Regions from separate parts of the Homo sapiens genome. Here all the other regions are linked to region 2. The links are contacts of gene promoters, found by promoter capture Hi-C in human tissues and cell types (Jung and others, 2019). All regions are on one chromosome and are shown on one strand. The core of a region is centred on a gene start or on the middle of the fragment in contact, and the rest is flanking DNA. Distances in the headings are between cores, read along the strand shown.

Region 1 (2,700 bases), core at 38-2,537, 560 kb before region 2:
GGCAAGATATTGGTCGTATTGATGGTGAACCTTTCCTACTGGATTCTTTGCATGCCACATAGCAGGATTCATTGCCTTTCTCTCATCATGGATGGCATGCAGCAGCACCCAAGTATTCTTCATTCTTTGCAGGGAAAAAATTGTGCATGGGGGCTGAAATGTAATATGTGTAGCTCAATTAGTCTCTCCTCTGTGATGCAAAATGGAATATTCAATGGCAGATCTGCCCTTCTGAGATGCTGACCATCCAAAACACCTTGTTTATGGTGCACCATGATTAGCTCACACACAATGCCAAGGCTGTGCTTCTATTATCTGATACATAGTTTGACAATGGGTAATTCTACTCAGACCCTCCCTACTGATTGGCTAGGATGCCTGTCAGGAACTCATTATGCTACTGGTTGTTTGGGGATCCCCATAGTGGACTACTTTCAGGAATGGCATGAATTGTAACCAACTGAGTGCTGCCCCCACTGTTACGGAAGTTTATAAAACCTTAGTTCCAGAAGACCCAAAGGAGAGTACTGGTTTGTGTTTGGTGCTTGGCCTAGATCCAGCCACCACTCTGAAACTCAGCACATCTTCATTGACAGGGAGGGAGCCCAGGACATATGTGTGGCTCATTGACCAGAAGGCTTTCTTAGTCCCAACAGCCATGAACCATGCACTTATGGATACCCAGCCTTTTAGGGCTACGTGAAATGCATCCTTGTAACATCATTGTATTCTTTCAATAAATAGCCTTCTGAGTTGAATGGGAGTCAGTTTGTCGTTTTCAATTTTCAGAACTTGGCTAAGATTAAAGAGTGGTGCACCAAGAGGGAGGAATTAACTGCTAAACTCATCACAGCCAGGTGAGTTAATAGCTACCATTTATTGAATGCTTACTACTTTAAAGACATTGTGCTAGGTGTTTCACATCTGTCATTCAATCCTTATAACTTCTGGTTAGCGGTGTGGTGGTAGTTCTTGTCTTTGCCCAGCATTTTCCCCCTTTTCCTCTTGCAACAATCTGATTGTATTGACTGTAGGAACCTAAATCAGGATGTCCCTGGGGCTCACTGATAGTTTTAGGGGCAGGCATGAGACCTAGTTCAGCTAATCAGAGTCCTTTGCCAGAATTTTTTCCAAGTAGAGCTGGAAGGAGCCCTACTTTGGGCTTTTGTGTTGCTAGGCCAAAAGATAAAGGCCTAGAGCTTCCTGGAACCTGATTTCTTACCAGAGATGGGAAGTAGGAGAGGACAAGGTTGACATGATGGTGTTCTTGTTTCTATTTCCTGATGTCCTTAGACCTGGCTCAATTTCTGAAGCTCTCCTTGGGATTCAGGAAGCTCCCCATCAGTCCAACAGTTTCTCCTTTTTGCTCAAGCTAATTTTTTATGTTTGTTGCTTGCATTAAAGAAACCTAAAATATGTATGATATACTTTTACCTGCCAGAGCATCTAGCGCACCTCCATGGAAGATGAGAAAAGACTTCTGCACTTTTAGGCATATTGATGGTGGTGATGCTTGGTTTTTTTAATAGCTGCAGTAGGCTTTTCACTTTGCAGTATTCTGACTTCAAGATTGAGCACTTTTTAAAAATACTAAGGTGGTTAATTCCTACTCATCTGTTAAAATGCAAATGGTGCTTCAGGAAAGGTTTTGCTGACTCTCCTATTTCAATTACATTGGTCTCCCTTTTAAAAATTTTCATGGATTACTGTTAATGTCCTCCATGTTACCACAGTTTGTATTTGTGATTATTTGGTTTTCTTTTTCCTACACTAGATGGTGAGTTCCAGGAAGGCAAGAGTCCATGTCTGTTTTGATAGCTCTTTTTATTACCCTGCTAATTAATGCCAGGCATATGGTAGATACTTAATATAGTGATATAGTGTTTTAAGTGAGCAATTGAGTGGAGATTGATTGCTAGACAAAGAAGACTGGTAGGTAAATGAAAAGATGCTCAATCTTGAAGTCAGAATATTGCAAAATAAAACAATGTAATACTGTTTCCTACCAATTAGGCTGGCAAAAATTGAGAAATCTGGCAGAGGGGAATTAGAACTTTTATACACTGCTGGCAAGAGGGTAACTTGGTATAATTATTTTGGGGAGTAATTTGGCAATATCCAGTAAAATCAAAGCTAAGCATATCTCATGTCTCAGCAATACCACTAGGAGATACATATCCTAGACTAGAAATTCTCCCTTGTGAGGAAAAGAGACACACACAAAGATGTTTATTGAGGCAGTGTTTTAAAGAGTAAAAATATGAACACAACAGAAATACTGGGAAGTGAATAGGTTAACAATAAGTCATGGCATATTCTTTTTGAGACAGGGTCTTGCCTTGTCACCCAGGCTGGAGTGCAGCAGTACGATCTCAGCTCACTGCAGCCTCCACCTCCCAGGTTCAAGTGATTCTCATGTTTCAGCATCCCAAGTAGCTGGGACCACAGGTGTGCACCACCACACCCGACTAATTTTTGTATTTTTAGTAGAGATGAGTTTTCGCTATGTTGGCCAGGCTGGTTTCGAACTCCTGGCCTCAAGTGATCCATTTCCTTGGCCTCCCAAAGTGCTGGGATTACAGGTGTGAGCCACTGTGCCCAGTCAATCATGGCATATTCTTATAATTTAACATACAGTTTTTAAATGAAGGAACCAGAGCATCTGGCGAAACAATAAAGAAGAGCCTAGAGCTGCCTATT
Region 2 (2,768 bases), core at 87-2,586:
TTCCCATCACATTTTAGGATTCCCACGTTGGAGGGAATCAATTACTGGTATTTGTAGCAATGGGTGGAAAAGATGGCTTCAGTCGATCTGAGTTACTGCAGTTTTCTCCATCTTCTGCTACTCTGCAGCCCCATCTTAGCCTGTCCTCCTCTTAATGGTACGGCCCCCTGTACTCCCCCAAACCCTTTCCTTTCTAGCCCGGCGTAGAGTCTCCCTCTGTGCTCTTCCTCCCACCCACCCCCATCTTCTCCACCCACTCCCTCTCGGCCCCCTCCCACCCTTTCTGCTAGAGCTACAAACACTTCCTATTTCTAGTCCCACCCACTTTCTGGGACTTCTCAATCCGCTTCCCCCCTCTTCTCCACCCCCCTCCAAATTACAAGCTGTTTTAACCCCTTTTCCTGCCTCCCAGGGAAACTATTCTTTAAACCGCCTTCCTCCACACCACCCACTGGAGTGGTCTTCCAAACCGTTCACCCTCTTCCCAAAGATTACTCTTTAAACGTCCTTTCTCTACCACCCTCGTTCTCCAAATTGTTCCCGGTTCTCAAGTACTCCACTCCTCCAGGACCCCACCCCACTCGTCTCTCGGCTTCCCTCCCACAAAAGAACCTGGAATGACTCTCCAACCACCCTTCCAATTACCTCTCCCAGAAGCCTCCCCCCTCCACGATTACAAATGTTACCTGGAACAAAACCTCACGGTCCTAACCCCCACCCCGAACTCCCCTTTCTGCTCTTCCCGCTACTTCCTAGGTTCCAGTTCTACTCCGCTCCCGCAAGCATAGCGGGCTGGGCTCCCTCCCAACCCCGGGAAGAGCCCCTTCCCGCACGTACCTCGAGATTCCGGCCCTCGCCGCCCCCTTCTCCGTCCTCCGCCCGCGCTCGGCCACCCTTTCCGCCCTTCTCCCGCTCCGCCCCGCTCGCTCCCTTCCTTCCCTCCGCCTTCCGTCTCCACACCGCTCCCTTCCCCCACACTCCTGGCCCTCCCACCCCGGAGGCCCCTCCGGGCTTGCCCCCACCTCCGCGCCGCCCTCCCGCCGCCCTCCCCCTTCCCGGCCACCCCTCCCCCGCCCGCGCTCCCCGCCCCTCGGCTCGCCATTCTTCTCTCCGAGCCGCGCGCCCCGCCCGGCCCCGGCTCCCTAGCTTCCCGCTCCCTCGCGCCCTCGCCCCCAATCCCGGCTCGGCCCTCGCTCCCCGCAGCCTCCCGTGCCCCCCGCCCGCGGCCTGACCTGCAATGGCGGCCGCCGAGCGCGGCGCCGCGCGGCCAACGGGCGACAACCGAACCTCCCGCCGCCGTCGCCGCCGCCGCGAGCACTGCCTGCGCACTTCCGACTATGCGCCAGGAGCACTTCCGGGGCAGAGCCTGAGAGCGCGCGCGCACGTGGGGCCGGGGCGGAGAGAGGCGAGCACCGGGAAGGGGAGCGTGGGGCCGCTGGTGAGTTGGGGAAGGGGCGTGGGAAGCGGCTGCGAGAGCTGGGGGGGTCTTACAAGGTGGCCGGCCCAGGGTCGGCGTCCGGCTGAGCTCCTTGTCCCGAGGGTCTCCTTGTCCCGAGGCGGGGTGGGGGCTACTCTGTAGACTCGGGGAGAGGGAAGGGGAGGCGAAGACCGCGCGCGCCTCAGACGCCCCGGCCCGACCGAACGCGCTTGCTCTGTCTGCGGGTTCCTAACCTTGAAGCTAGGCCAGTGAGGGGCGAACAAGACCTGGTCTCTACTCTCGGCCAGTATATATGTTGGCGGGCGTCGGGGGGACGGGGTAGGGTAAGTGACAGACGTCAGACCAGGCAGCCAGATTAAGTCAAACCCTGTCGTTTCTTCCTCAAGAGGAGCTCGGTTCTGCCTGCCCCATCAGCCTCACTGTCACTACCTCAGTTTAGGTCTGTTGTTTGCAAACTTAGCAATAGAGTTGAGGAGAGATGCTTGCTAAAATGCGGATTCCTAGGCGCCCCGAGATAGGAACTCTGGAGCTATGGAGTAGGACCCTTTTTGATTTTTTGCTGAAGCCTCCTTATTATTCAAGCCATTCTGAGCTTTTGAAGATTGAGTAATTCTTGTGGGGGGCATTGTTAGCAGCCATTTGGAAATGAACTTCAGGGAGATGTTGTTGGAGCCTTCCAGCCAGAACAGTGATATTAAGGAACTGAATACTATATGTGACATACTGCAGTTAACATATAGCAATAATGACTCTCTTTTCGCCCCCTAGGAATGGGTGAATTTAAGGTCCATCGAGTACGTTTCTTTAATTATGTTCCATCAGGAATCCGCTGTGTGGCTTACAATAACCAGTCAAACAGATTGGCTGTTTCACGAACAGATGGCACTGTGGAAATTTATAACTTGTCAGCAAACTACTTTCAGGAGAAAGTAAGTCATTTGGGAGTCTGATATGGTGTTTTGATGTTAATTTCTTCTGAAGTTCAAGAAGCTTGTATGTCTTTTATAATCAAACTGATTGAGTGACTTCCTAGCCCCTCTGAAGTTGCTTAGAACTACCAAACTTCTGAGATCTCCTAACTGATAAGAGAAGCTCAGTTTCAATCTGTGTAATGTTGATTAGAAGGGTCCTACCTAGAAATGTGACATCTCACTGCCTGTCATTGGAAACTGAGGTTTGCTGGATCTTTTGGACACAGGAAGGGAAATTGTTGGTATATCAGTCTCAACACCATTGCAGCTTTGGTAAGCAAAATTTCCTGCAGGGAGTATCAGTACTGTTTCATTGTCAATTCAGAAAAAATGATAACACGTTTTAATATCAGAAACTT
Region 3 (2,700 bases), core at 57-2,556, 680 kb before region 2:
AGCCACCGCGCGTCCTGGAAGCAGGTCCCCGAGCCTCGGTTTGGGGTGCGCCCTGCATCGGAGCGGAGCAGCCCCCAAAGATTCGCGGGCACGAGGTTGGGGGTAGCGTCTACCTGGAGCTCTTGAGTGCTTGAGGGGAGACCCGCCCCGTCCCGCTCTGTACATGCCCATCTGGGATTGGCCCCCAGCTGCGGTGCCAGAGGCTCGGTCCCCGGGGCGTGGTGGGCTAGGGCGGGTCGTCTCGACTTAGAGCCCCAGGCCTGGATCCAGGTAGGGAGGGCCTGGGAGATAAGGCCCAGGTGGGGAGAGGTGGGGAGGGGTCCCTCCTGTCCTCGTACATCCCCCTACACTACCTCTCACACCCAGGCCACCCAACCCTCGGCGCGGGCCCGAGCGCGGGGGATTCCGAGTGTCAGTGCTTTCCTCCACCCGCGACTCCGAGAAGGATGGGGAGGGGTCTCCCAGCGTTTCCCTGCCACATTCCAATTCCACCCTTCACCAGTAACCTAGGAGGGTCCAAGTGGGAGGGGTAAGAGTCCTCTGTCTCTTCCACATCCTCGATCCTCCTCTTTACAAAACCCTAGGGCCAAGGGAGGAGGGGGGAATAGGGAGGGGGGCGAGTGTGGAGGAAGGGGCCTGGGCAAGGGTCTTCCCTGCATCCCAAGCAGCCCTTCCTGAATACCCCTGGGAGGGTCTGGGCTAGGGGAGCGGTCCGCGATCTCATCCATCACCACCAGACTCCTTTGTAACCTCGAGCAGCCGAAGTGTTGCGGGGAGGGGTCCCCCTGCCTCGAGTCCCTTCATCCCACAACACCTCATCCTCCCGTCCTGAGTAATCCGAGCAGCCCCGTCGCCAGGCACAGCGGGAGGGAGGGTCCAAGCCTCCTCGCTCTCCCAGGAGAGATGGGGGGTGGGGGTGACCCCCAGCCCTCGCCCCTCATACCCAAGAGCCTTCTCCATGATAAAACGAAAACTAACCCAAGCTGCTCCGACCTCCGGCGCCCGGCCACGGGAGGCCCCTAGTCAGTCGGCGGCTGTCCGGGACCCGCGGTCCTGAGAGCAACGAGAACACGTCCCGTCAACTCCCCAGCCCCTCACGCCTCGGTTCGCCCGCTCCCCAAGAAAACAAAAGCGAATTCAGCAGCACTGACCTCTGACGGCGGGCGGGAGGGCGGTCAGCGCCCGGCAGCGCACCCCGCTCCTCCCGGCTCCTCACAGCCCGGGCTCCCGGCCGCAGATCTGGCGGCGGCCGCAGCGGCGGCGGCTCTCGCGGCTCTCGGGTCCGGAGCCTCCCTCAGACTCAGCACCTGGAGCGGCGAACAGCTCCGCGCTTCATTCCTCTGACCCCGCCTCCCTCGCGCCGCCGGAGCCAATGGTGACCCGGACCCCGCCCAGGAGTCTGCCCATTGGGGGCGTCCTCCCCTCTCCCTCCGGCCCCGCCCGCAGGTTCCTGGGTCTCTCCTTCAAGACCACATCCCCCAGAGACCGGCGGAGTTTCGCACAGCCTTCTGGGACTTATAGTTCTTTAAGGACGCGGAGTGGGCTCACGCCGCGGGTAGGCAAACAGAGCGGGACTGCATTTCCCAGAGTGCACTGAAGACACGGAGGCGCGGAGCAGGGCGGGAGGACCGTTTCCATAGCAAAGACGACCAGCCGAGGATGGCTGGCGGAGGCGTGGGGCAGGCCGCAGGACCCTCGAAGGATCGTGTGAGACCCCGGGCAGCCTCTTGGGAGGCCATTTCGAGGAGAAAACCTTGATTTCTGCCTCAGGACCCTGGGCCTCAGTTTTCCTATCTGAGAAGAAGGGCGAAGAGCTGTGCCCCCGACCACACCCGTCGGTGATGGGGCAAACCGAGGGCAAGCAGGTTTGGTTCCTGCCCAGCAAAGGTGAGGGAGGACGGAGGAGACTCTCCCACCGCATTCAGAACTTTATTCCTTTATTTTTGTCTCAATCTTGTCATAGAGGAGCGCTTCACTTTTGGTCATCCCTTGGGCCACCAGGGCCTTCCCGTCTCCGTCTTCCCATCGCAGGTCCTGGCCTCCTTCACACCACTCCAGGATACCGCAGCATCTCCCCCAGCGCAGCAGACGGAGGGCGCTTCACATGCCCCCGGACCTAAGCCCACTCTCCCCTTCAAGATCTGGACTCCACTTTTTTGCAACACTCTTAACTTCTTTGGAAGCTGGGAAGCCTCCTACTCCCTTGGGCCTCTCCACCCTGCCCTCAGCTAACTCGTCGGCAAGCCCCAGCCTAGACATTGCCTGTTTTGTGAAGACATCTAGATGCTGGGCTGTCTGTTGAGTGCCCCACCCTGTGTTTGAGCAGCACCCTCTACTTCCCCTGTTCTACTTGCATGTTTATGTGCTCGTCTTCCTCATTATAAGATCCACAGGGGAGGGGCCATGTCTATATTATTCATACTTACAGTCCAGTGTCTAGTATCTGGCACGTAGTAGGCACTCACTAGCTATTGAGATATAAATATAGATATTTGTTGAATTGAAAATGAATTGGGCCGGGCGTGGTGGCTCACGCCTGTAATCCCAGAACTTTGGGAGGCCGAGGCAGGTGGATCACTAGGTCAGGAGTTCGAGACAAGTCTGACCAAAATGGTGAAACCCAGTCTCTACTAAAAATACAAAAATTAGCTGGGCGTGGTGGCACGTGCCTGTAATCCCAGCTATTCAGGAGGCTGAGGC

The links. The method cuts DNA at HindIII sites, captures the fragments that hold promoters and counts their contacts. A contact is called where the count stands out against the background at its distance.
Region 1: a fragment that was not itself captured here is called in contact with the fragment with the promoter of CHTF8 in region 2 in 2 of the 25 tissues and cell types used here (lymphoblastoid cells and mesenchymal stem cells).
Region 3: the fragment with the promoter of SMPD3 here is called in contact with the fragment with the promoter of CHTF8 in region 2 in 2 of the 25 tissues and cell types used here (heart right ventricle and stomach).

The regions. Positions count from the first base shown.
Region 1 is chr16:68,566,374-68,569,073 of GRCh38, forward strand. It overlaps ZFP90 (ZFP90 zinc finger protein), which reads left to right. Exons shown (of 5, transcript NM_001305203.2): 5 at 1-758. Among named protein-coding and RNA genes, the nearest start is that of ZFP90, 28 kb to the left of the region's middle. The HindIII fragment of the contact is 4,837 bases long and covers 1-2,700 here.
Region 2 is chr16:69,131,252-69,134,019 of GRCh38, forward strand. CHTF8 (chromosome transmission fidelity factor 8) reads right to left here and starts at 1,337. Exons shown (of 4, transcript NM_001039690.5): 1 at 1,233-1,337. DERPC (DERPC proline and glycine rich nuclear protein) reads right to left here and starts at 1,337. Exons shown (of 3, transcript NM_001002847.4): 1 at 1,233-1,337. UTP4 (UTP4 small subunit processome component) reads left to right here and starts at 1,398. Exons shown (of 17, transcript NM_032830.3): 1 at 1,398-1,438; 2 at 2,207-2,367. The coding sequence starts at 2,209. RefSeq lists silencers at 917-1,066, 1,087-1,446. The HindIII fragment of the contact is 4,885 bases long and covers 1-2,768 here.
Region 3 is chr16:68,447,202-68,449,901 of GRCh38, forward strand. It overlaps SMPD3 (sphingomyelin phosphodiesterase 3), which reads right to left and starts at 1,307. Exons shown (of 9, transcript NM_018667.4): 1 at 1,152-1,307. It overlaps LOC124903705 (a long non-coding RNA gene), which reads left to right and starts at 1,639. Exons shown (of 2, transcript XR_007065097.1): 1 at 1,639-1,865; 2 at 1,964-2,700. RefSeq lists a silencer at 1,005-1,524 and an enhancer at 1,625-1,674. The HindIII fragment of the contact is 13,014 bases long and covers 1-2,700 here.